Linked DNA regions of Homo sapiens: regions 1, 2, 3, 4 and 6 are each linked to region 5. The links are contacts of gene promoters, found by promoter capture Hi-C in blood cells and fetal thymus (Javierre and others, 2016). All regions are on one chromosome and are shown on one strand. Each heading gives the region's core, a stretch centred on a gene start or on the middle of the fragment in contact. The rest is flanking DNA. Distances are from core to core; before and after follow the strand shown.

Region 1 (4,199 bases), core at 1,507-4,006, 230 kb before region 5:
GTTCCACGTTGGCCTGCAGGTGGAAAGGAGAGTTCAAGTCAGGGTCCATGCACCCCAGAAAGCCAGGGCTCCGTGGCAACTCCACGGACCACGTACCCTGGAAAGGGACCCGTGGCCGCTGTGTGGACCACACACCCTGAAAAACGAGGGCCCGTGACCGCTCCACGGACCACGTACCCGGGAAAGGGACCCGTGGCCGCTCTGTGTACCACACACCCTGAAAAGCAGGGCCTCCGTAGAGCCTAGGCCCCACACTGTCAGTACCCCTCCTGCTTGGCCATCACTGGCACGGCTGCCATCAAGCTGGGCAGACAGGGCCACCAGGCCACCTCAGCCCAGCGCCCCTCTCCCTCGGAGGTGCCTCCTGCCTGACCCTGGAGAACCCTGTGAAGATCACCTTTGCAGAACAACAGCCAGGGACCGACCCCGAGAGCCCACAAAGCGGGGAAGCCCCCCGCCCCTGTCTCTGTGCAGCCAGCCCAGCCTCCACCTCACCTCGTGCGGTGGCTGCTGCTCCTCCCCGTCCATGGCTGGGCGGCGGCTTCCTGCACCTGTGGGGAGCCTGAGGAGAGGCATGAGAGGCGGGGTTTCCACCTGGAGCCCCAGACCTGGCTCAGGACTCACTGCGTAGTGCCCTGTCAGTCTAGAACCATCTGTTGGGTGGGCCTGGGGGCTCCTTCCCCCATATCCCCAAATGCCTCCTGCCCATCAAAGGCTGCTGAGGTCCAGGGTCGGTTCAGGTCAGGCCCGGGTGGGGAAAGGCCAGCAGGTCCCCAGACACCCCAGCATAAACCAAACGCAGACGGGCCCAGGGCGGGTTGCTGGTGCACAGGCCTCACTCAGAACAGGGCCAGAGCTGCCCAACCCTCACTGCGGCACGGCGGGCACACATAGGAAGGCAGCCCTGGGGTCCACACATGATCTCAGGACACAGCAACGCAGCTGCTGACACATGGCAAGGACCCCAGGGCCTTTGTACAAAAGCCACTTCCCCTTTCAGTAACTACAGCCTGGGCAACAACACCGGCACAGAGTCAGTACAGACGGAGGAATCCACAAAGCACACAAATCAACGTGTTTGGACCTAAGACCTTCTCTCCCACTTTAAGAGACAAACATGGTGTGGAAGGAACCACGGTAGAAACCCGGACAGGCTGGGGCAGCCACACGAGGGGGCTGCCCCGAGGCATCACAGCTCCCCACAGACTCTCAGAAACCAGGAGCTCAGGCCGGGGGCCCAGGAGCCTGAGGGAAGGAAGAAAACAGCCAGGCGCCTGCAGCACCAGAGGCACGCACCGGCCAAGACCCACAGAGCATCGGCGAGACCTGCGCGGAGCCCCTCGAGGCGGGGCCAGGGACCAGCAGGCTGTCCTGAGACTGGCCACAGGCCCTGCTGCACCATGTGGCTCTTCCTGAATGTTCTCAGCCACGGAATGCCAGGAGTGACTGTTTACCAAGTTAATGGCTCATGCATGTCCTGGCGGATGGATGTGTCACCAGGCAGAATCATTAAAATATCCCAAACAGGCCAGGCGCGGTGGCTCACACCTGTAATCCCAGCACTTTGGGGGGCCAAGGTGGATGGACTGCCTGAGCTCAGGAGTTCGAGACCAGCCTGGCCAACATAGACCATCCTGGTGAAACCCCATCTCTACCAAAAATACACAAATTAGCCAGGCGTGGTGGTGCACACCCGTAATCCCAGCTACTGGGGAGGCTGAGGCAGGAGAATCACTTTGAACCCGAGAGGCTGAGGTTGCAGTGAGCCGAGATCCTGTCACTGCACTCCAACCTGGGTGACAGAGGGAGACTCTGTCTCAAGAAAAAAACAAAAGTAAAAAATAAAAATGAGCCGTTGGAAACCATTCTGAGCTGTCTAGTCGTGCAAGGTATTGTGGTTTTGTCTTGAAGCGTCTGCGTCAGTCAGACACGAGCATCTGGCGAGGAAACGACGGGGCTTGTAGGATGTGCTTCAGAGGGGCCACTGCCGGGTTCTGCACTGATGCCTGCGTGCATCTGGGGTCATTTTCATGTCACTACTGCTGCCCACTTCTCAGAACTCATAAGAAAAAGGAACAATGAGCAATAAGACGCTATGTCAGGTTCCTTTCCTCTGCAAACCCTGTTGGCACACAGCCACAGCAGGCACAGACCTCGGCCCCAGCCAGGACTCACAGACCCAGCTGGGTCCTGGCCACCCACATCCAAGTTAAGATGCCTCCAAGCTTGGGTGTCCTAACCTGTGAACAGGAAGGAGCTCTCTGTGCAGTGTCTAGGAGGGCAGCTCAGGGGCTGGGGGAGCAGGGACGGCTCTGAGCAGGGGAAGAGGCCTGTCTCAGTGCAACCAGAGGCCCCATCTGAAGCTGGCCGAGAAGAGGGCAGCCCACCCTGCCCTCTTCTTGGACAGCCGGGACTTCTGGGAGAGGAACTGGCCTGGCTTGGGGTGGGTGGTGCAATGGGGCCATGGTCGGGGGAGGTCAGCTGAGACTAAGGAGACAGCTGATAAACACCAGGCTCATGTCCCCGGGGGCCTTGAGCCTCTGCAGAGGGCAAGGGGGGCCCGCTCCACAGGCAGGCTCCCCTATGGGGCCTCACAGCCTTGGCAGGGGGTCCCACTCCTTGCCACCTGGGCTTGAGTCTGGACCCAACCCTGGCCTGGGCGTCTTAGCGGTTGGCACATCCAGGAAGTGCAGCTGGCACCGGTCACAGCAGGACCAGGCCCCGGACCCTTGGGCCGCCTCCTTCCCCTTTTGTAGGTGAAAGCTCCACGATGCAACCCGACCGGAACCCACCGGAAGCTGTTGTGAGCAGCCGCCAGGCCAGCCAGCCCAGACAAGCACCCGGTCCGGGAGACGGCCGCCTCCCTGGGTCTAGCTACACACACAAGCCAGAACTCTTAGGAGCAGCGCAAGACTGCCGGGGCGCACGGGGGAAACTCACACACGGAAGTCCGGACCATTAGAGCAGCGCAAGGCTGCCGAGGCACACCGGGGAAACTCCTTAAAGAAACTCCTGTGCAGCCGGGCGGGAGGCTGCGTCGGCCCAGCCAACAGGAGGCGCCCACGTCGCCACAGCCCTTCCCCCATGGGTGTGGCAGCCCCAGGTCTGCGGTCAGCCCCCACCCTCCACCCAGCCTGGCCAGACCCGCCTCTGAGGCCGGCCTAGGGTACGCCTGTGGCCATGGACAGGGCAGGGTCTCGGTGCAGCAGCAGGCGCTGGTCCTGACCCCAGTCGTGCCATGGGGTGGGCGTGCACAGGTCTCCTGTCAGGGAGGGCAGAGAAGCTTTCCTGGGCCGGCTGCCAAGCCTTGAGCAGGACGATGTCAGCGCCACCAGAGGCAGTGCCAGCCCCCAGCCCTGGCCCCTGCAGCCTCTCAGCAGAGGCGTGCTGCCCGCAGGGAGCCAGGCGGGAAGGTCACTGAGGACCCCCCAGCACCTAAAGCCCGTGATTCTGGGGGACGTCTCTGACAGTCACTCTTACAGTCTCAACACTCTCTTTCCCTCCTCGCCAAGGCCCCTGGAGAGCTCTAGGGTGTGATTTCAGGTTACCAGCCCTCCTCCCTCTAGTCTGCTCCCAGGCAGCTGTGCTCTCAGACATTTATGGCTGGGCCCAGAGCCTCTCCCAGCTGCCTGGCGGTGAGCAAAAGGCCCTGGCCCAAAAGCCACAGATGCTGAGCCTGGACTCTGAAGTGTCTTCAGAGACAATGTCTGAAGAACCCCCACCTGGTTCCCAGCCCCACAACCTCTGGGTCCCAGCAGAGCATCACCTGGGGTCCGGCCAGCACACACTGCAGCCACCCCCTCTGGGTCCCAGCAGAGCATCACCTGGGGTCCGGCCAGCACACACTGCAGCCACCCCCTCTGGGTCCCAGCAGAGCATCACCTGGGGTCCGGCCAGCGCACGCTGCAGCCACCCCCTTTCTACCTGTCCTTTTCAGATACGCTCAGGCCCATCAGCAGAGACCAGCAGACCCTGGCTGCCCCTCCGGGGGGACAGACATCTCTCCTTCCCAAATCCCCAGTGCTGGCACTGCCCCAGGGAACCTCGCAGTGGCTTCTGGCCTTGTTACCTGCAAGGCCAACCCGCTGGGAAGCGGTGCAGCCTGGCAGGAAGCCAGACGCTTGTATCAGACCAGCTGTGCTTCACTCTCCCTGCCCCGCACGGACGTCCACCGAGCAGGACTGGGGTGGGTGCTGAAC
Region 2 (3,875 bases), core at 449-2,948, 160 kb before region 5:
AGTTTCCCTCTGTCACCAAGGCTGGAGCGCAATGGTGCGATCTCAGCTCACCGCAACCTCTGCCTCTTGGGCTCAAGCGCCTCCCAGGTAGCTGGGATTACAGGTGCATGCCATCACACCCAGCTAGCATCTGACAAAATTTAACACCCTTTCATGATAACGTTTAACAAACTAGGAAGAGAAGAAAATCAGGCTGGGTGTGGTGGCTCACACCCATACTTGCCTGTAATTCCAACACTTTGGGAGGCCAAGGCGGGAGGATTGTAAGACCCTGTCTCTATGATATACAAAAGTTAGCCGGGCATGGTGGTGTGCCGCTGCAGTCACAGCTGTGAGCTGTGATTGCGCCACTGCACTCCAGCCTGGGCGACAGGAGAGCCTGTCTCAAAAATAAATAAATAAATAAATAAATAAAAAAGAGAAAAAGGAAAAGAAGAAAAAGAAAGAAAGAAAGAAAGAAAGAAAACCATCACCTCAAAATGATGAAAGTCATATATGAAAAACCCACTGTTAACATCATACTCAATGGTGAAAGATTGAAAGCTTTTCCCATAAGATCAGGAACTTCCAAGGGAAGGATGCCTGCTTTCACCACTGCTATTCATCATGGTACTAGAAGTTCTAGCCAGAGCAATTAGGCAAGAAAAGGAAATGAAAGGCATCTAAATTGGAAAGGAAGAAATAAAATTATCTGTTTGCAGATGGCATGCATAATTTTATATGTAGAAAACTCTAAAAGATTCCACAAAAAACTGTTAGAATAAATAAATTCAGCAAAGTAGCAGGGTACAAAATCAAAGGACAAAAATTATCTTCATTTCTAAACAACACTGAAGAATCTGAAAAGGCAGCTATGAGAGCAATGTATTTACAACAGCAGCAAAAATAATAAAATACTTACAAATTAATTTAACCAAAGAAGTGAAAAACATATACAGAGAAAATGACAAAACACTGCTGTAAGAAATTAAAGAAGACATAAATAAATGTTAACACATTCCATGTTCATAGCCTGGAGGATTCAATATTGTTAAAATGTCCATACTAACCAACGCAATCTACAGATTCAATGCAATTCCCATCAAAATTCCAATGACAGGCCGGGTGCAGTGGCTCACACCTGTAATCCCAAGCACTTTGGGAGGCTGAGGCGGGAGGAATACTTGAGGCCAGGAGTTTGAGACCAGCCTGGGCAATGTAGTGAGACCTCGTCTCTGGGGAAAAAAAATTCCAATGCTATATTTTGCAGAAATAGAAAAATGCATCTTAAAATTCGTATAAAAGATCTTGAAAAGCAAAATAAATTCTGCCAAAGAACAACAAAGCTGGAGGACTCAAATTTCCTGATTTCAAAACTTACTACAAAGCTGCAGCATCAAAACATCAAGTCGGTGGCCTGTGGAAGGAACTGAGGAGCACCCTCCAAGCCCAGCAGACCTGGGTCCCCAGGGAGGAGCTGAGGAGCACCTCTCCATCCTAGCAGACCCAGGTCCAGCTTTTTCTGCCACCTCGATGAACCATTCAGGCATTTGCCTACAAACTCAAAGTGACTGGGGGACAGAGGACTGCGCTCGCGACTCATGGCAACCTCCCTGCCCAGGATCTGTGAGTAAAACACATCTGAACTTGTTTCTATCACGGCAGTGGATTGAATTTGCACCTTCCATCCTAAGAACCCAGCACTGCCCAGGCCGGGTTTTCCCTGGCATTGGGGAACATAAGTTTGGGCTCCCAGTGCCAGATGATCAGGCAGGCATAACCTGGATACAGGTCAGACGAGAGCCACTGGGGCGTCTGCCAGAATAAGTTTCCTGCGTGAGGAACCCCGGTCATGGGGCATCAGCTGTCCTCCTGGTAAAACAAGGACATTTTTTTAAACAAGGAGGTGTATTTGGAAAGGATCCCCTGAAGGGCGCATGGTGAACACCTAGGTCCCATTCCCTTCATTCTCCTTAGGACAGGGCTGCCAGCTGCTCTGGCACTGGAACTCCAGTTTAGCTGGGGACTCTCAGAACACCTCAAACCCCTACAGAAAAAAACCCTCCTGGACAAAGGGCAATGTTCTCCCCTCAAACTGCCAAATTTATAGACTTTTCTTCCTTCTTGAACTTTTCTTCTCCACCTACCCCACTCAGAACGTGCTCCTCTGTCTCCCATGTGGGTGGGGACCTGGGCTCTCCTCCCCTGGACCCTTGCCCTGCTGGCTCTGTCAGGATGATGGTAAAAGGCTAGAACACTTCTTGCTCATAACAAAGGCCTCCTAGTCTAGCGAGAGAGGCCAGGCTGATGGCAGAGGTATCCCTCAGTTCTTCTGCTCCAGACCCCAAAGGCCCTGTGCGTGACCCCCAGTGAGGCTGTGGGATGCCAGCCCCTGGTGTACAGCAGGTCTGGCAGCGTGAGTGCTATGGTGCCTCATCCCTCACGGCCAGGCAGTGACCCTCGTTATCCCAGCTACCTGTGAAGAAAACAAGCCAGATGAAGGTCTGAACCTGAGAAGGAACCTCCTGGCTTTGTCAGAAAACAAGAGCATTAGAAGATGCCAACACCCCACAGGCCATGAGACACTTCCTACCTCTGCAAGTAATGGCTGGAAAGTCAGGATGTCAATTTTTTGTTCCACACATTTTCTAAGTCTATCTGGGATTGGATATTGGGGAAGAAAACTTGGAAGTTGTCGTCTTGAGTTCCTTAAAAAATTAAGTTCACAAGTTAAAAATAAGTCTTTATCACCAGGTATCACTAGACATTCTTACCTAAACATCCTTTCCTATTTTAGGAAGACCAAAGTCCATCCATTTCCTGAGAAGAACTGATATATGAATAGCTGGTCTAAGGCAGTGGTTTGAAGCTTTCGTTTTAGCTCTGGGATCCTTTCCTCAAACAGTTCCCACAAGTGCTCTACTATTTGTAAACAGGTAAGTGTAGCTGCACAGGCTGTGGGAAAACAGGGCTGGAACCCCCAGAATCTCCTGGAACCAGGAGTTTGGAAACAGCTGTTTTTAACATTCTATGAGCTAAGCTCTTCCTACTATATTTGACATCAGGACTCCACCTGGGCCTATCCCTGCAAAGCACACATTAGGAAAAGGCTGCTCTGTCTGGGTCCTGCCTTCGATTTGTTTTTGTTTTGTTTCCCAGCCTGTGGTTTCTCTGGGGAAATTCAGTTTGTTCAGGATGAAGAACATCGCTGCTCTGGAGCCAAGCCCAATGCGGCAACAGAAACAATGGGAAAGGGACAGACAGGAGAGGAGAAGCCAGGAGAGAACAGGGAAACGAAAAGTCAGAGTGAGGTCGATAAAACTCAACTCAGCAAATAAGGATGTTGGTTGGACCTTTATCCCTCATTCCCTCCCAGCTCTCCATTTCAGTGCAGTCTCACCCAAGAGAGAAGCCCACATTGCTCTCCGTATTCCATTCACTGTCATCTCAATTTGGGTTCCACTGGCTCAGCCCTCAACAGGAGAAACGGGGTGAAGACATTCCCCATGGTTTGTGCTGAGGGTTATGTCAGCGCTCACATGCGAGGTGTATTTGGAAAGCATTGATTACTAACACGAACAAGGTAAAGGGAAACCAGGATGATCACTACAGGCTTAGGTCAACAGCCTGAACAGCTAACAGAACCATGTGGCCTCAACAGACACGCTGGATTAACAAAATGTGGTTCCTACCATGATGGGTGGCTAGAAACTTGGCTGGGAGTGTGCTGGCCTACAAAGCCCCCCAGAACAGATCTGCTAAGTGAACACTCTGCTCTAGCTAAGAGCCAAAGTTGCCTGGCACTGGGGGTCCTAGCAGGAAGTGCAGGACCTGTGACAGGCGGCCACGGATGGACAGCTCTGGAAGCAGGCACCCGCCAATGCCCGCGTGGGCAG
Region 3 (3,899 bases), core at 99-2,598, 130 kb before region 5:
TCTACTTTGCATTCACAGTCTCTAAGCCAGAGCTGACAGAAATGTTCTCTATGTGTGCTGCCCAATTTGGTAGTCACTAGGCTTCAGTTAGCACTTGAAATGTGGCCAGGGAAACTGAGGAAACACTTTTATTTATTTATTTTTAAGAGACAGGGTCTCTATGTGCCCAGGCTGGTCTCGAACTCCCGCCTCAGCCTCCCGAGTGCTGGGACTCCAGGTTTATGCCACCGCGCCTGGCTGTAAGTTGCATTTAGTTTTAATAAATCGAAACTGCTGCACATGAGTGGTGGCTACCATATTGAATGATGGAATTCTAGACTTTGAATTATTTTATTGGGTATGCTTTTTTTTTAATTTGAGAAAGATGATACTAAGCATTAGATGGTACTAACTATAATAGTATAATAAAGTACATCTCAAGTATTTTTAAAAAGTAGTTAATAGCTCAATACGTTTGCCAGATTCCAAATTACATTTAAAAATCGCTGGGCATGGTGGCTCATGCCTGTAATCCCGGCACTTTGGGAGGCCGAGGTGGCGGATCACGAGGTCAGGAGATCGAGACCATCCTGGCTAACACAGTGAAACCCCATCTCTACTAAAAATACAAAAAATTAGCTGGGCGTGGTGGCAGGCGCCTGTAGTCCCAGCTACTCTGGAGGCTGAGGCAGGAGAATGGTGTGAACCCAGAAGATGGAGCTTGCAGTGAGCCAAGATCATGCCACTGCACTCCAGCCTGGGTGACAGAGCGAGACTCCGTCTCAAAAAAAAAAAAAAAAAATTGAAAGCTTTCCCATACAGGAAGAAAAAGATTAATTTGAAAATACGATGGAAAATGATGTTAATAGAACACATAAAAACTCCTGAAAATAAATTTAGTAAGAAATTTACAGGACCTAAAAGAAGAAAACTATTGAACTATAAAAAGAATACAAAGGAAGGCTTAAATAAATGGACAGACATATGGAAAAGACTCCATATGACCCAAATATCAATTATTCTAAATGAAATGCATAAACTCAGTGCCATCCAAAGCAAATCTGGGCAGAGGGGGAGAAACAAGATTCCAAACTCATCCAGAACATGTGAAGAGCCAGAAAAATACCATATGCTAATAAGAGCAAAGAAGGGAAACCTGCTCACCACCTATCACAGCAACCATGCCATGGGGCCCCCTTACAAGCATCAGGACCACATCACATGCAGGTGGGATTCTGATACATGATTAAGGAATTTTCCAAATCAGCAGGGAAAAAGTGAGCTACTCAGATGACTGGCTAGCCATTAGGAAAGCAATGTCTGGTTCCTTCTCTCAGTCTGTGCACCCAAATAAATTCCAGGCAGGTCAAATATTTAAATATCAACAAACAGGCCAGGCATGGTGGCTCATGCCTGTAATCCCAACACTTTGGGAGGCCGAGGTGGAAGGACCACTCGAGGCCAGGAGTTTCAGATCAGCCTACGCAACACAGTGAGACGCCATTTCTACAAAAAAATTTTAAAAATTAGTCAGGTATGATGGTGTACACCTGTGGTCCCAGTTACTCAGGAGGCTGAGGTGGAAGAATCGCTTGAGCTCAGGAGTTCCAGGCTGCAGTGAACTATAATCGCACTACTATACTCCAGCCTGGGCGACAGCGCAAAGCTCTGTCTCAAAAATTGAAAAAAAAATTCTAATTGTCAATAAACAATTTTCAGAGTAAAATTTGAATATTAGGAATAAGAAGTGGAATAAGCCTCCCTAAGGCTTCTTACAGCATCCAAAAGCTACATGGAAAAGAGGCACACTTAACTACAAAAAATGAAACTATAAAACACAGTCAAAGATGATCCTGGGGAAAATATTCCTAACACTTTCATATAATAATTTTCCTTAAAAAGCTCTGATTTCCCTAATATATAAGCTTTAACAAAAGAAAAAGCTGAACTCAACAAAAATGTGGACAAAGGACCCAAAAATAATTCATAGAAAAAACATGAGGCCGGGCGCGGTGGCTCACACCTGTAATCCTAGCACTTTGGGAGGCTGAGGTGGGCAGATCACGAGGTCAGGAGCTCCAGACCATCCTGGCTAACACGGTGAAACCCCGTCTCTACTAAAAATACAAAAAAATTAACTGGGTGTGGTGGTGGGTGCCTGTAGTCCCAGCTACTCAGGAGGCTGAGGCAGGAGAATGGCGTGAACCCAGGAGGCGGAGCTTGCAGTGAGCTGAGATTGCGTCACTGCACTCCAGCCTGGGCGACAGAGACTCCGTCTCAGAAAAAAACAAAAACAAAAACAAAAAGAAAAAGAAAAGTTACCATACTTAAGGCTTAAGTGCAAATTAAGTGCAGTCTCTCATTCTGCTCCTAAGAGTATAAATTTGTATATTATTGATGTTACTTTGGTGATAACCATTAAATTGTTGAAAAAGCAAGAAAATAATGGATATATAATTGCTATGTTCTCCACAGCATAAATTCATAGGCAAACTTTACTTTCTAAAGTATACATGTCTATGTTGTTTGAATGATTTACAAAGACTGCTGTTTGTTTATTTATTGAGACAGGGTCTTGCTCTGTCATCCAGGCTGGAGTGTGGTAGTGCAATCATAACTCATTGCAGCCTTGACCCTCTGGGCTCAAGCGATCCTCCCGCCTCAGCCTCCCATGTAGCTGGGACTACAGGTATGTGCCACGACACCAGGCTAACTTTTGTGGGTTTTTTTTTTGTAGACACGAGGTTTCACCATGCTGCCCAGGCTGGTCTCTTAACACCTGAGCTCAAGTGATCTGCCTGTCTCAGCCTTCCAAAGTGCTGGGATTACAGGCGTGAGCCACTGTACCCAGTCTATTTTTTAAAACATAAATCATAAAGAGCAAAAGCATCCCCTTGAAGGTACATTCCACTCTTTCTCCCTTGGCCGGGTCATGTCTGATAGATTAAACACAAGGAAAAACAACACAAAGTCCCGTGGCGAAGAAAAACTGTTCCCAAATGAACTCAAACCTTACCCTGATTGCTTTCAGTCCATTGGACACTTTATTTTCTTCCACAACTGCAATCACTTCCTGTCCAACATTCAGAAGCACTCTGCTAGTCACAGCATCACTGGAGAAGTAGATCATATCATCAATCATGCCATAATCGCTGCAGTACCTTGTCACGACACCCCGTACAGTTTTCAGCTTAGTGTCACCTGAGGTAGGTAAACAAAGAAGTTATCTTGGCCATAAAAGCAAGCGTACGCTACAGTGAACCCCACCAGAGAAAGGCAGAGTGCAAAAGCCTCCTTTTTTTGCAGTTCGGAGGCACTGACTCCGAACGGGCTGACTTGAGACAGAGAGAATCCCATCAGAGAGTGCTGTGTCTGGAACGTGGGGTTTGGAGGCAGACAGCCCAGTTTCCTCAGAAGGGCACAGGTAGTGGTTGTGGAGGTGACAGCCCTGACTCCACAACAGACTGCATGGGGTTGACTCCTAGCTCTTCTACTGCCATTGGTGTAACCCTGGACTAGGTCCTTAACTACTCTGGGCCTGTTGCCATCTGTAAGATGGAGACTAATCGTCACTACCCAAGAGAGCTGCTGAAGGGTTAAGTGGCAGAACACACGTGCATGTATGGACCTCTGCGTGGCTGACACGCGTTAAGTGCTATGTAAATGGCCACTTATATCAGCATCTGGGAGTCATTAGCATGCACGGTTTTATTAGTACTATCGATTATCTTTTTATTACCATCAGCAGCAGCCTCGGAAGACTGGAGAATCTCAACAAACACGGTGCTGGAAAAGGTTCGGGGCTGGGCAGACAAGTCTGGCCCAGGAGCAGCGCACGCCCTCAGCCGTCTGGCCACTGCTGCAGCCACGGTCCTGAGTCCTGAACGTGCCTTTACTGCAGCTTCCCAGCCACGGGAGGA
Region 4 (4,238 bases), core at 622-3,121, 160 kb after region 5:
TCTCTTGAGAGGCCAGCAGGCGCCGAGGGTGCTGCAGCGATGGCGGGTCTGTGCTGGCTGCGCATATAGGCCCTGGTTTTTGTTCTGGTGTGTGTGGCCGTTGAAGGCCGCAGGGAGAACGGGGGCGGCAGCTTAGCTTTATAAAGGGTGAGCAGCGATTTGTGTGTATGCTGGTGGCGTCCCACTGTCTCCTGCTCCCGTGGCCCACCCTTCCTGTCCTGGGAGCGCATCCTGCAGCTTTCCCAGTGTCTGTCCTGTGGCATGCTGGGCGCTGCTGCCCACATCGTCCTTGCTGTGCTGCGTGTGTGGCCTCTGCCAGTCCCACGCACCTGCTGGCGGCATTGGGCCCAGTGGCAGGAGCTGGGTGCTGTTGCCAGGAGGCCTGGGGTCGGCCACTCTGTAACACTGTGGGCCCTCACCCCAGGAGCTGGCCTGTCCTCCCAGCAGAGGCGATTTTAACCTGACCGTCGCCTAGCCCTGCCCTGTGTCTCCCCCATGTGTCTGGAATGGACGCGGAGGCGCTCAGCTTCTTCCCGGCAGTGGGGATGCCTGAGTGCTTCTTCACTTCTGTCCTTTCTCGTGGAGCCTCCCACTGTTGATTTTTACATGGGAAATATCGAGCCCTTGAGAGCCGAGTAAGGAACCTTGATCCTTCTGAGTGGATGAGGCTGCATGTGTCATGGGACCTTGGGCCCAGGTGCTGTCAACGGGGCCCCTGCCACTGCCGATGGCGTTTGTTAAACCAGGTTGGGGAGCAGACTAGTAAGTTTGCTTAGCAGCCAGTGCGTGATAAAGGGCTTCCTGGTGATGAGGAGATTTCTTCCGCTTCGTAACAGATTCCCAGGCCAAATGTCCTTTTGGCCGAGGTTTTCAGAAGTGTCGATTGCAAGCTGAGGGACAGGCAATACTCAGATGCTCCGGGGAGCTTGGTTTTTGGAGCCCACATTTTCCTGCCTTTGCTTGAGTTGATGTGGATCTTGTTACTCTTAGCCCCGATTTCCTGCCTGAGGGTGTTCAGCAGCATTGAGGAAAACCCAGAGATCCTCACTTCAGGGGACATCAGCGCAGCAACGCTCTGCCTCGCCATGGAGAGGCCTGGCCTTGGGGGTGGGGGTGCGGGGCTCGGCCTCCCTCCTTGAGCCTCCTTTTCTGAGCAGTTTGGAGTCCGGGGTCCTTGCATCTTGTAGTCCAGCAGTCTTTGCCTTCACACCCTCGGTCCTTTGAAAAGCTATGACAGTACCCTGAGGTGGGCAGGTGGGAACCCGGGGACAGAGGCGTTGGGGGAGAGGAGGGTCTCAGGGCTGTGAAGCATGTGCCAGAAACTGATGGCCACGGCTGTCCTGAGGCTGGCAGGGCGCGCGTGTCCTGCAGCTGTGGAGGATGACAGGTGTTGGGGGCCCACTCAGGCCAACTCCCTCGTTGACTTCCTCTCCCCTTTGAGGTAGGGTCAGGGTGCCCCGGCACTGTGACGAGCAGGCCTCATGCGGCCAGGCCTGGGGGACATGGTGAGGACAGGGCTGAGGGCAGACCCAGGTGGCCTACTCTCCTGCGACCATCTGTGTCATGGCCTTTGCAGGGCTCTGATTTTCTTCTGATCACCCTGGTGTGGATGTTGGCTGGGTTGAGGCTGGCGGCCTGTGCTGTCTGGCGCACTCTTCTGTCCACTGAGAAGGGAGCAGGTGCTATCAATGGAAATGGGACCCTGGCTGTGGGGAAACGTGTGTCGGGATGGAGGCGCTGTGCAGGGCAGGGCAGCAGGTCGGCTGTGTGCCAGGCCCCCGTCATGCTCTGTCCAAGCCAGGATGGGCCCAGCATGTGGTTTTCTGTGCACCTGGTTTCTTTCCAGCCGCTCCCTCCATTCCCAGCTGTCCTGGAGGTGGGTCCTCAAGGGTCCCCCATTCTGTCCTGGCCCCGCCTTTGTGGGCCTTTCTGGTTCTGTGAAGGCCCCCCCCGCCGCCAGCTTGCGGAGGCCTCTGTCCTCTCTGGAGGGTGGAACCTGTGCACCGGGGCCAGCCCCCTGCTCACCTTGGCCTGGCGGTCCCCTCTGTCCCCTCCATCCCCTCTGTCTCCTCTGTCCCCTCTGTCCCGGTGCTGTCCTGGGGCTCTCTAGTGAGGGTGGTCTGTTGTCCTCCCCAGGATGGGCCTGCAGGACCCCTGACGTGGATGCCTCTTGGGGTCTCACCTGCATGGTATCTGAGGCCTTTTGCAGAAGGAGCCTCTGGGTTTGACTGACGGAAGTGTTCACTGTTCTCAGAGAGAAAATGATGAGGAGATGAAGGCTGCCAAAGAGAAGCTGAAGTACTGGCAGCGGCTGCGGCACGACCTGGAGCGCGCTCGCCTGCTGATCGAGCTGCTGCGCAAGCGGGAGAAGCTCAAGCGTGAGCAGGTGGGGCTGGGCCTGTCCCGCGTGGAGTGCACCACTGGCCACGGGGCGTGGGTGGGACGCTGGCAGCTCCTGCAGAGGGTGGGCTGCACCCGGTGGGTCCTGGCCCACAGCAGTGCCTTGCTCAGCCCAGGCTGGGTGCCTGGCTGCCATGGGTTGCAGAGCCCTAAGTGGAGGCTGCGTTGTCCTATGCCTGGACGGAAGCACAGGAGCCTGTGGGGGCTGCTTGTGGCTGTGGGGCGCGTGGTGGGGCTGAGACGCATGTGCGGCTCCCTAAAGCTGAGGCTCTGCTGGGCCCCCCCAGGTGAAGGTGGAGCAGGTCGCCATGGAGCTGCGGCTGACCCCGCTGACGGTGCTGCTGCGCTCAGTGCTGGACCAGCTGCAAGACAAGGACCCCGCCAGGATATTTGCGCAGCCCGTGAGTCTGAAGGAGGTGGGTGTTTGCGGCGCTCGTCTGTCCTGCCGCATGTGTGACTGTGGATTTGTGCTGCCGTTTGACCGGGAAACGTGTGATTGGCTAGAGTACATCCCTTGTGTTCTTAATTCTCGTTTTTATTTAACGTATTTGTTTTTAAATTATAAAAGTGATACATTTCATTGTAAAATACTGAAAGTGCAGTGGGCAAGAGGCCCTGTGCAGACAGTACCCTGGGCTGTGGCAGCATCCGCCCGGCACCCTCCAGCGTGCTTTAGCTGAAGGAGCTGGGGTCGGGAAGGTCCCTGCAGTACTTGGGTCTTATGTCTGTACCGTCTGCGTGTCTGTGTGTGGCTCTCAGATAGGATGGGCTTGTGGGTTATATGGAATAATAAATATAGAGTCAACTAATATCCTGTTTTAGTTTGTAAATGATTCTTTTTCCTCCCTAAAATTAGGTACCAGATTATTTGGATCACATTAAACATCCCATGGACTTTGCCACAATGAGGAAACGGTTAGAAGCTCAAGGGTATAAAAACCTCCATGAGTTTGAGGAGGATTTTGATCTCATTATAGATAACTGCATGAAGTACAATGCCAGGGACACCGTGTTCTATAGAGCCGCGGTGAGGCTGCGCGATCAGGGAGGTGTTGTTCTGAGGCAGGCCCGGCGCGAGGTGGACAGCATCGGCTTGGAAGAGGCCTCGGGGATGCACCTGCCTGAGCGGCCTGCTGCGGCACCGCGGCGGCCTTTCTCCTGGGAAGACGGTAAGAACTGGCGCCGTGTCCGGAGGAGGTGGAAGACGCTCTTTCTAGCAGACTCTGTCCTGCTCTGTGTTGCCAGCTCCCTATCAGCATGGTCCGGGAGCCACTAGCATGCAACCGCATACATCATTTACATTTTCTAGTAGCCTCACTGAAAAATGGAAAAGAAGCAGGTGGAATTTACTTTAATAATATGTCTTATTTTACTCAGTGTATGGAAGAGTTGATTTCAACATGGGATCGGTAAACGTTACTGAGGATATATAAGCTTTTCACCTTCTTTGCCATCTGATGTGTATTTTACGCTCAGCACCTGTCACTTCAGACTGGCTGCGTTTTGGGTGCCCACCAAGAGGACTGTGTGGCTGTGGCTCCCTATGGGGTGGCCGGTCTCGACGATGCAGACCCAGAAAGCAGCTTAGTTGGGGGTTTTCATCCAGAGTGGGCCTCGGCTAACTTCTGAGGGTGGCGTGAAGCCGGAGGATCTCTGGCTTTGCCTCCAGCCCTTTAACTTCGTGGTTTGCGCATGTTGTAGAAAGGGCTCTGGGAGTGTGTCCACGGCCCACCTGGACTCCAGCCTGGGCTTGTGCTTCTTGGTTGCCCAGGCACGTGTTGCAGCCATGTGTAGTCACCTGCACCCTTCTCTAGACTGGTCCTCGGAAACCGGGGCTG
Region 5 (4,326 bases), core at 1,503-4,002:
CTTGCATTGTGTGTGCAGGACGTGCCCAGACGCACACCGCAGGACTGAGGGCGGGAGGTGGGCTTGGGACCCTGCGCCGGCGGAAAGAGCTCCGGGTGGGCAGGCAGATGGGAAGGCCGCCTCCGGACACAGCAGCACAGAGGGGCGTCTGGGGTTCAAGTATCCACCCAGGGCAGGCGGGACCTCGACCGGAGCGTCTTTGGACAGACAGAGCTTGAGAAAACCAAGTCCCGCGGGACCAGCGTTCAAAAGGCACTCAAAGCGAAGGTCACCAGGGGTCAGAGGTCACTGCTTCCGCAGGAGGAGACGGCCCACGCAGGAGAAAGTCAGGGTCTGGGGGCGTCCCAGGTCTGGCCAAGGCAGGTGGTCCCCTAGCTCCCAGTCAGGTGCAGCTCCTCACAAGCTCTCGCTGCTGGACGTGGTGCTGGCCACGTCATCAGGGTCGAGGGTGCACAGCCGCAGGTCACAGCTCTCCGGGACGCCCCCGTCAGCCCCCAGCATCCAGGGATGGGCCGCAATCTGATCCAGCGACGGCCGCTCTGAGGGCCGCAGGGACAGGCACCACCGGATCAGCTGCTGGCACTCTGTGCGGAGCGGAGAGGTCAGGGAGGGCCCAAGCAGGGCGAGGCCCCCACCCCCGCCTCGAGCCACCACGCACCTGGAGAGACCCTCCTCCGGAAGAGCAGGCGGCCTCGGAGGATCTCCTCGTCCTGCTCGAAGGGGATGTCCCCACACACCATATCGTAGAGAAGCACGCCCAGCGACCACACGGTGGCCGAGCGCCCGTGGTAGCGGTGGTAGCGGATCCACTCCGGGGGGCTGTACACTCGGGTGCCTAAGGGGACACAGGGCTTAGCACGCCCACCACAGAGGCAGAGCCGCTCAACAGACGGCGAGGTCCCTGCTGGTTAACTCCCTGGCCTCAGTAACAGGAAGCAGAGCCAGGCCTCAAAATCCTGCTCGTCATCACCCTGGAAAAACCCCGGCAGGCGATGGGGGGGCTGGGGGAGGGGCCGGCCGTCCCCCTCCGCCGGCCGCGGGGGAGGAGCAGGTCACATGAGTAAGAGCTCGGCTTTCACAACAAACAGATGCGCTGTGAGGCTACCTGGGTGGGGGGGGGACAGCGCGGGTCCCTTACCGCCCGGCGCGCCTGCCTGCGGGAACGGGGGGAGGGGAGAGAGGGAGGGAGGAGGGAGGGGCGGGCGGGGAGCCCCGGCTTCCCCAAGCTCCGCAATGCGGGGATTTCTGCCGCCGCGCCCCCGCGCTCCGCACGCACGCAGCTCCCGCCCCCACGCAGGGGAGGCCCCGCCACTCCAACCGCGCCGCGGGGGCCTCCAGGCTCCCGGCGCAGACCCAGCCCGGCTGCGCCCTGCGTCACGCACGGAGACTCCTCCGCTACCGCCCCCAGCCGGGGGTCTCTCGGGCCGGAAGGATGTCACGCGCCTCCCACACCGGGGCAAGAGGCCCCGTACCCCCCAACGCGATGGAGGAAGCAATATTGAGCGCGCCCCTAGCCCCCACCCAGCACGATCCCGCTCTTGATCCCTCGCTCAGCCCTCCCCAGGGTAGCGCGTGGGCCTCTGCTCCCCACGAGAGCAGACCCAGGGCGCGCGGCCGCCCAACAGTCATCAGCCCCTCCATGTGCCGCCCCTGCAGGCGTTAACCCGCCGGCAAGGCCCCCGGAACGTTCCCTGCCCCGCGCCCGCGCTCACCGTCGAAGTCGGTGTAGACCGTGTCCTTGAGCAGCGCACCCGAACCGAAGTCGATGAGCTTGAGCTCTCCGGAGCGCAGGTCCACAAGCAGATTTTCGTCCTTAATGTCGCGGTGCACGACCCCGCAGCTGTGGCAGTGGCGCACGGCGGCCAGCACCTGCGCGAAGAAGCGGCGCGCCAGCGGCTCGTCCAGGGCGCCGCGCTCCGTGATAAAGTCGAAGAGGTCCTGCGCCGGCTCGGGCCGCTCCAGCACCAGCAGGAAGCCGTCGGGCCGCTCGAACCAGTCCAGCAGGCGGATGACGCCGCGCGCGCCGCCCGCCGCGCCCACCTTGCGCAGCAGCACCACCTCCAGGGGCACGGTCGCGCCGCCCTGGGGGACACGGCGGTCAGCAAAAGCCCCGCGCCCGCCCCCCGCCGCCGCCGCCGCCCGTGCCCCAACTTACCAGGCTGCCCCACTCGGTCACCCGCTCCTTCACCACGTGCTTCACAGCCACCTGCGGAGACGCGGGGGTCAGGCCGGGCCAAGCGAGGCGCAAGGCGCGCGAGAAACCCGGGCCCGCCCGGCGGTCCGACTCACCGGGAGCCCGTCGGCGATGCGGCTACCCGCGTAGACCGTGCCGAAGCCGCCGCTACCCAGCACGGCGCCCACCTGGTACGCCTTCTCGAAGCTCTCCTTGTCCGCCTTGGCTGCAGGGAGGCGCGGGCGGGGTTGGTGCGGCCCGGGGCGCCCCCGGTCCCCGCCCTGGCCCCGGCCCCGGCCCCGCCGGCCCCGCGCGTACCTGGCTGCAGGATCTTCACCGGGAGGTGGTCCACGCCGCCGGGCCCGCAGAGGTGCGCCAGGGAGCCGAACTTGGAGAGCAGCATCGCGGGCGACGGCCTCCCCGGAGCCCCGAGCCCCAGGCGCCGAAGCCGCGGCCGATCCGGGCGAGCGGCGCGCCGGGGACACCGGCCGTCCGAGCCCGAGGCGGTCCGCGCGGCGCAGTGGGCCCGGAAGGCCCGCGGGGACCGCGTAGACGCGCAGCAGGCGGAGCGCCTCACCCGCCCCGGCCGCCTCGCCCGGGGGTTTTGGGCCGCGGCGCCGCGTATCCCTCCGCGGGGGCGGGGCGAATCGGGACCCCGCCCCCTTCCGCCCGGGGCCCGCGAGGCGGCGGCGGCCGGGCGCTAGCTGGGGAGACGGCGGGGCAGCTTGGCGCCTGTCTTCGGGCGGGCGAGGGCCGGGTGCGGCGGGCGCGGGGCCGCTCCGGGACTCGTTTTCGTAGCGCAGCCGCGGAGGCGCACGGCGTGTCGCGTCGGTCCGCTCTCCGCGCTCACGCTCTCACTCCGCGCAGGCGCAGTGCCCGCGCGGGTGGCGGCCGTGGCGCCTCGGGCAGAACGAGGAGGGACTGCACGAGCCAATGGAAGCCGGAGTTTTTAAAGAAATCCGGCGCCCCAGCCAATGGCGGGGCGAGCCGTTTCCTGGCTCCGCCCCCAGCAGTGCCTAGGAAGGTCACCCGCCGGCCCCGAGCAGGGTTCCTGGGGGTGTGGGAGTGCGGGAGGCGACCTGCGCTTGTCCCGCGGCCTCGAGGTGACACACGCCGCCAGTCTGCGTCCCCGGCTGTCTGCGCATCCCGTCGCGCACGTGGCCGGGCGCGCGGGGAGGTAGCGCCGGCTCCTCTGGAAGCCCTCGCAGCGGCAGCGCCCCCAGCCTCGCAGCCCCGGCGGGGGCCGAGAGCGCACCTGGCTGGAGATGCTTCCTCCTCACCCTGGGCTCTGACCTCACGCCCGCAGCCCGAGGGCCCTCCCTGGTACCTCTGCCCTGCTGGCCGGTGCCTGGAGTGGCCCCGCCCGACTCCTGCCGTCTGACACGGTCCTGGCTGCCCTCCGGGCTCTCCAGCAGCTGCTGTCCACCTCCACCAGGGAGCCCACCTTGATTGCTGCGACAGCCGCACTCAAAGGCTGAACAGCCGGGGTACACATTGCCCTGGTCTGGACTTCACCCTGTCGTGCCCCTTCCCTGCTCTCTGTACAGAAGTCTGACTCACCTGTGTGGTTTGGTGCAAACCCACAGATTGCCAACATTGGTCCAAAGTCACCGGCCTGAGAGCAGCTCAGGGTTCCAGGACGTGAGTGGCCACCCGCCAGCCCCAGGGCTAGTGGGTTGAGAGTTGGGGGCCAGAGGGCCCAGGGGCTGGTCCTCTTGGCACTGCCAGGCGTTCTCAGTGGCCCTCAGGGGTCTAAATATTGTGGCAGACATCCCCGGGCGGTCTGGTGTGACCGTCAGCGCGCACACACACTTGCCTCGGAGCTTCCAGCCTCCCCTAAGTCTGACCTCTCATCTCTATACAGTCACCATCGCTGTCCCTGCGCTGACCACTCACACACCACTCCCCTGTTCAGCTCTTCTGAGGCTGTGGCTCTCGGGACTGGCCCAGGCCCACCTGCCATCTGGGCGCCCTCTGGGGCTCGCTTCGTCGCCCGCTGCCTGGGCCCATGCCTGTGCTCCTGGGGGCTCCTCTCTTGCCTAGCTCATCTCTTCCTGTCCCTTGGGTCCTGAGGATCAAAGCCAACGCGACATTGTTTGTCCCCAGGCCCCTCCCCCTCCAGCCGCTGCTTCCCAGAGCTCTGTCCAGTTCTC
Region 6 (4,285 bases), core at 1,371-3,870, 190 kb before region 5:
CACCCCGGGGGCACAGCAGGGTTGCCCAGGGGTGTGCAGGAGCTGGGGGTCTGGGTGTCACCCGGCTGGAGGGAGGACAGGCCACAGGTGTCAGGAGATGCTAAGCCACATCAGCACCCAGTGCTTTGCACGCAGCGTCTGTATTTCTAGAGATGTGGAGGGAAGAAGGGGTGGGAGCGATGGGCAACACACGAGCGCCTCCTGGGGGCAGCTCACAGGAGAAGCGCCGCAGGCTCCTGGCCTGCTCTCCACCTGCGTCTCACTCCTGTCATTATCAAAATGCCCAGGCTCTAGTCCTGACTTCCCCTCTCTGAGCCTCCACCTCCCACGTGTCTCTCGGGAGGTGGCTGAGGTGAGAGCAGCTGAACTGGCCGCTGTAAAGCGCTGAGAACAGGCCTGGCCATGCAGGCGGCCACAGATGGCAGCCTCTCCTGCCATCCGCTCATTTCCTCCTGACTCATCCTTGTGAGCCACTCTCAGCTGGGCACTGCCTGGCCTGCATGCCAATAGGCTGAGGCCCTGGGAGCCACTTCCCAATCTGCGGCACCATTAAGAAAATGGGGTTGGTCGGGCGCAGTGGCTCACGCCTGTAATGCCAGCACTTTGGGAGGCCGAGATGGGTGGATCACGAGGTCAGGAGATCAAGACCATCCTGGCTAACACGGTGAAACCCCGTCTCTACTCAAAATACAAAAAAATTAGCCGGGTGTGGTGGCGGGCGCCTGTAGTCCCAGCTACTCGGGAAGCTGAGGCAGGAGAATGGCGTGAACCTGGGAGGCGGAGCTTGCAGTGAGCTGAGATCGCGCCACTGCACTCCAGCTTGGGTGACAGAGCAAGACTCCATCTCATAAAAAAAAAAAAAAAAGAAAAAAAGAAAATGCGGTCTCTAGAATGGCTCCCCACAATTCTGGCCCCTGCTGCAAACTCAGTGAGGTTCCCAGCTACAGAGCAGCCCTCCTGGCGGGTACCTGTCCGGCTCTTCCTTCTCCGTGTGACAAGGGAGGTAAGGGAGGTGCAGGAGCAGAGAGTCCACAGCGTTGCTGATGGACGGGGTGGGGATTTTGCGGGAAGGAGTCGTCAGGAGAAGCTGCGGAACTCTTGCATGGGAAGGCTGTGGGACTGAGCGGAGAGCAGGAGCTCGCTCGGCACATGATCTGTTTCTAGAGTGCAGAGGGGCCACCCCACCTGGGGCCATGAGCTGAGGAACAGGTGCCCCGGCTTCCCTGGCTCGCCCACCCCAGCAGCTTCTGCTCTGTGGTCAGGAGGCCTCAGTGGGGAAATGCTCTTGGGGCAGAAACATGTCCTGATGCCTGAGGAAGCAGGTATGGGGCAGAGAGAGTGTCCGGAGCCACGCCAACACTCAACAGGACGCACCTTGGGCCCGCACCGTCCTCACTGCCGAGCCCACGTTTACCCTTCTCACTGCTGATTCCAGGATCTCCCCTCTCCAACCCTAGATGCTGGGCAAATCCATCACCTCTGAGCCTCAGGTGTCCCACTGTGGGGTGAGACCCTGTGGTCAGACCTGTGCGGGGGCGGGCTCCTGCTTACAGCAGTGCTGGGCCCAACATGTCCTGCATCCACTCACGGTCAGCTGACACCTTTCACTTCAGGTATCAATGTGTAACTCTCAAGACACGGATTTCACAAGTGACACCGTGAACCCCTCCCAGTGAAAGATGTGGAAATCAGCAAACTGCCATTTCCCCATCTCATGTCCCTATTTCTGTTGAAAAAAATTAACATTATGTATCTTTCCTAGAATGTAAGTATTTAGGTTTCAATTCTGTATTAATTGCAGTTATTTAATGTCACTTTTGCCAGATGACATTGCTACTTCTTTGCCCTTTGAAGTGCCCCTCCCCACTCCAGCCGCCCCCAGTGGCCAACTAACGCTGTGGGGCCTCTGCAGCTGGGCTGCAGCACCCTCCCTGCTTCTGCACAGAGCGCCTCTGAGAGAGCGGCCTGCAGCACCCTCCCTGCTTCTGCACAGAGCGCCTCTGAGAGAGCGGCCTGCAGCACCCTCCCTGCTTCTGCACAGAGCGCCTCTGAGAGAGCGGCCTGCAGCACCCTCCCTGCTTCTGCACAGAGCGCCTCTGAGAGAGCGGCCTGCAGCACCCTCCCTGCTTCTGCACAGAGCGCCTCTGAGAGAGCGGCCTGCAGCACCCTCCCTGCTTCTGCACAGAGCGCCTCTGAGAGAGCGGCCTGCAGCACCCTCCCTGCTTCTGCACAGAGCGCCTCTGAGAGAGCGGCCTGCAGCACCCTCCCTGCTTCTGCACAGAGCGCCTCTGAGAGAGCGGCCTGCAGCACCCTCCCTGCTTCTGCACAGAGTGCCTCTGAGAGAGCGGCCTGCCCTGGCCGGCCACCTCCTCCCACTACCTGAACATCAGCTCCAGGGTGCAGGGTCCATGCAGTGCCCGCTCTGCCCCCAAAGAGCCCTCTGCACCCCAGTGAGGACTGGCTCTTCGGCTCTTGACCTTTGACTCATCAACACACATTAACAAAAAAAATCCCTGTCTTGTTCAGATCCGTGCTGTCCAATCCGGTAGCCACACACGGCTCTCGGGCACCGCACAGTGGCTAGTCTGAAACCTGACATGCTCTAAGTGTAAAATACATGGTGGATTTTGAAGACTTGAACCAAAAAAAATGTAAAGTGTCTCATCAATCACGTTCTACTAATCTCATGATGAAAGGACATCATGTATGTGAGAGAGTTAAACGCGCCGATGAAACCATCCGTGACACGCTGTGATAGGCGTGGCTGGCTGTGCCTTTGCTCCATGTGGAGCTGACGGACCACCTCCTGTGGTCACCCTCACGACCACCGTGACGCTGGACACTGTCCAGGGTGACCTGTCTCCAGGCTGTCAGGGAGGGTCACGACCACTGTGACGCTGGACACTGTTCAGAGCGACCTGTCTCCAGGCCGTCAGGGAGGGTGGGGCTTCCCTCAGAGGCCCTGGCTTCTCCCTCTCTCACCCTCAGCCTGTGCCCCCGACACTGTCTGGCTCTATGCACTGAGAGGGAGCTGCCTGCTGCCTCCCCGACCCCACCCCCCTGCACTGGGGTCTGAGAGTGCCTTGGTCCTCACTCAGCCTCCCTGGGCTCGAAGCTCTTCCTCCCAGCCCCCAGGGGAGGTCCTCCTATGACAGCCGGCACCCCACAATCCATCTCCTCCGCCTGTCTCCCCTGAAGAGCCCCCAGCGCCAGGGACACAAATGGCCCCCAGGGTCTGACCTTACAGAGCCCAGCCGTTTCCTAGGCAGCCTGCCTCCCCACGCCCACTCCAAGAGACTCACTCTCCTGCTCAGAAGCCCTTCACTGGCTTCCCGGCTCACCAGAGGTCGTCCAAAGGCCCCTCCACAGCCCGCCAGGCCTCCCCCTCACCACCCCTTTCAGGCCGTTCCTGCTCACGAGGCTCTGGCTCTACAGTCTCCTTTGGGGAGACCTCAGTGCTCCCCCACCGCGGGGCCTCTGCATGGGCCAGTCCATCTGCCTGCCCATCCCACTGCTGGCTCCTTCGAGTCCTTGGGGTCTCGGCTTCCCCAGCTCCATTCAGGCACGGCCCTCCCCAACCAGCCTTTCTCGCCCACAGCCCTGCCTCCCTCCCTGAGCACTGAGTCTCTGGGTCATCCGCCCCTCAGACAGAAGCTAGGAGAGGACTCCGACCTCTGCCCTGGGAGGCCCCATGCCGCGCTCCATGCCCGGGGCTCACCTCACTCCTATTTGGTAAAACAGCCCTGAGCTGCTGCATGTGGTGATGATTATCCGGAAGCGTGAGGCTTTCCAGATGTCTTCTCCGTCTCTGCAATACGGTTTGACGGCGTCAATAACTATCTGGGGGCAAGGAGGCGTAGAGTTAGTTTACTCCTCCAATTATTAAGCAGAATTCCAAAAGGGAACCTTGCCCTGGTACCACTTCTTAGTTACGTCTAAGTCATGATTTAAGGTTTTTTTCTCAAAATATCTCATACTTCCTTATCAATTCAGTCCATGTTTTATCAACTCTAGAGCCACAAATATAACACATAATCCTGCAGACCCTTCCCCAAAACAACTTTGTACATTTTCTATTCAGTTTGTTTGTTTGTTTATTTAGAGAGGGAGTCTTGCTCTTGCTCTGTCGCCCAGGCTGGAGTGCAATGGTGCAATCTCGGCTCACTGCAACCTCTGCCTCCCAGGTTCAAGTGATTCTCCTGCTTCGGCCTCCGGAGTAGCTGGGATTACAGGCGCATGCCACCACGCCCAGCTATTTTCAATGTCTTTTTTAAACGCAATATTT

Evidence for each region. The method cuts DNA at HindIII sites, captures the fragments that hold promoters and counts their contacts. A CHiCAGO score of 5 or more calls a contact.
Region 1: a contact is called between a fragment that was not itself captured here and the fragment with the promoter of PIM3 in region 5, in 7 of 17 cell types (M0 macrophages, monocytes, M1 macrophages and 4 more). The highest score is 8.5, in M0 macrophages.
Region 2: a contact is called between a fragment that was not itself captured here and the fragment with the promoter of PIM3 in region 5, in 1 of 17 cell types (endothelial precursors). The highest score is 5.1, in endothelial precursors.
Region 3: a fragment that was not itself captured here is called in contact with the fragment with the promoter of PIM3 in region 5 in 1 of 17 cell types (endothelial precursors); the score reaches 5.2 in endothelial precursors.
Region 4: a contact is called between a fragment that was not itself captured here and the fragment with the promoter of PIM3 in region 5, in 1 of 17 cell types (non-activated CD4 T cells). The highest score is 5.1, in non-activated CD4 T cells.
Region 6: a contact is called between a fragment that was not itself captured here and the fragment with the promoter of PIM3 in region 5, in 2 of 17 cell types (megakaryocytes and neutrophils). The highest score is 6.7, in megakaryocytes.

Annotation. Positions count from the first base shown.
Region 1 is chr22:50,189,390-50,193,588 of GRCh38, reverse strand. It overlaps TRABD (TraB domain containing), which reads right to left. Exons shown (of 10, transcript NM_001320485.2): 2 at 496-562; 3 at 1-13. The coding sequence starts at 528. Among named protein-coding and RNA genes, the nearest start is that of TRABD, 5.6 kb to the right of the region's middle. RefSeq lists enhancers at 1,830-1,979, 2,170-2,389, 2,660-3,019, 2,705-3,319, 3,320-3,934 and 3 more and a silencer at 1,630-1,679. The HindIII fragment of the contact is 1,058 bases long and covers 2,228-3,285 here.
Region 2 is chr22:50,119,314-50,123,188 of GRCh38, reverse strand. It overlaps MOV10L1 (Mov10 like RNA helicase 1), which reads right to left. Exons shown (of 27, transcript NM_018995.3): 10 at 2,573-2,687. Among named protein-coding and RNA genes, the nearest start is that of MOV10L1, 31 kb to the right of the region's middle. The HindIII fragment of the contact is 2,305 bases long and covers 546-2,850 here.
Region 3 is chr22:50,091,282-50,095,180 of GRCh38, reverse strand. MOV10L1 (Mov10 like RNA helicase 1) reads right to left here. Exons shown (of 27, transcript NM_018995.3): 2 at 2,996-3,180. Among named protein-coding and RNA genes, the nearest start is that of MOV10L1, 3.2 kb to the right of the region's middle. The HindIII fragment of the contact is 1,116 bases long and covers 791-1,906 here.
Region 4 is chr22:49,797,136-49,801,373 of GRCh38, reverse strand. BRD1 (bromodomain containing 1) reads left to right here. Exons shown (of 13, transcript NM_001304808.3): 4 at 2,255-2,386; 5 at 2,688-2,816; 6 at 3,257-3,569. Among named protein-coding and RNA genes, the nearest start is that of BRD1, 29 kb to the left of the region's middle. The HindIII fragment of the contact is 3,930 bases long and covers 1-3,836 here.
Region 5 is chr22:49,959,198-49,963,523 of GRCh38, reverse strand. It overlaps PIM3 (Pim-3 proto-oncogene, serine/threonine kinase), which reads right to left and starts at 2,752. Exons shown (of 6, transcript NM_001001852.4): 1 at 2,492-2,752; 2 at 2,290-2,399; 3 at 2,156-2,206; 4 at 1,713-2,082; 5 at 659-835; 6 at 1-584. The coding sequence starts at 2,576. The coding sequence ends at 397. It overlaps MIR6821 (microRNA 6821), which reads right to left and starts at 658; the gene lies at 585-658. RefSeq lists silencers at 1,540-1,589, 2,230-2,279, 2,420-2,569, 2,620-3,259, 3,300-3,579 and 2 more. The HindIII fragment of the contact is 13,464 bases long and covers 1-4,326 here.
Region 6 is chr22:50,145,244-50,149,528 of GRCh38, reverse strand. It overlaps MOV10L1 (Mov10 like RNA helicase 1), which reads right to left. Exons shown (of 27, transcript NM_018995.3): 19 at 3,719-3,840. Among named protein-coding and RNA genes, the nearest start is that of PANX2, 23 kb to the left of the region's middle. The HindIII fragment of the contact is 7,030 bases long and covers 1-4,285 here.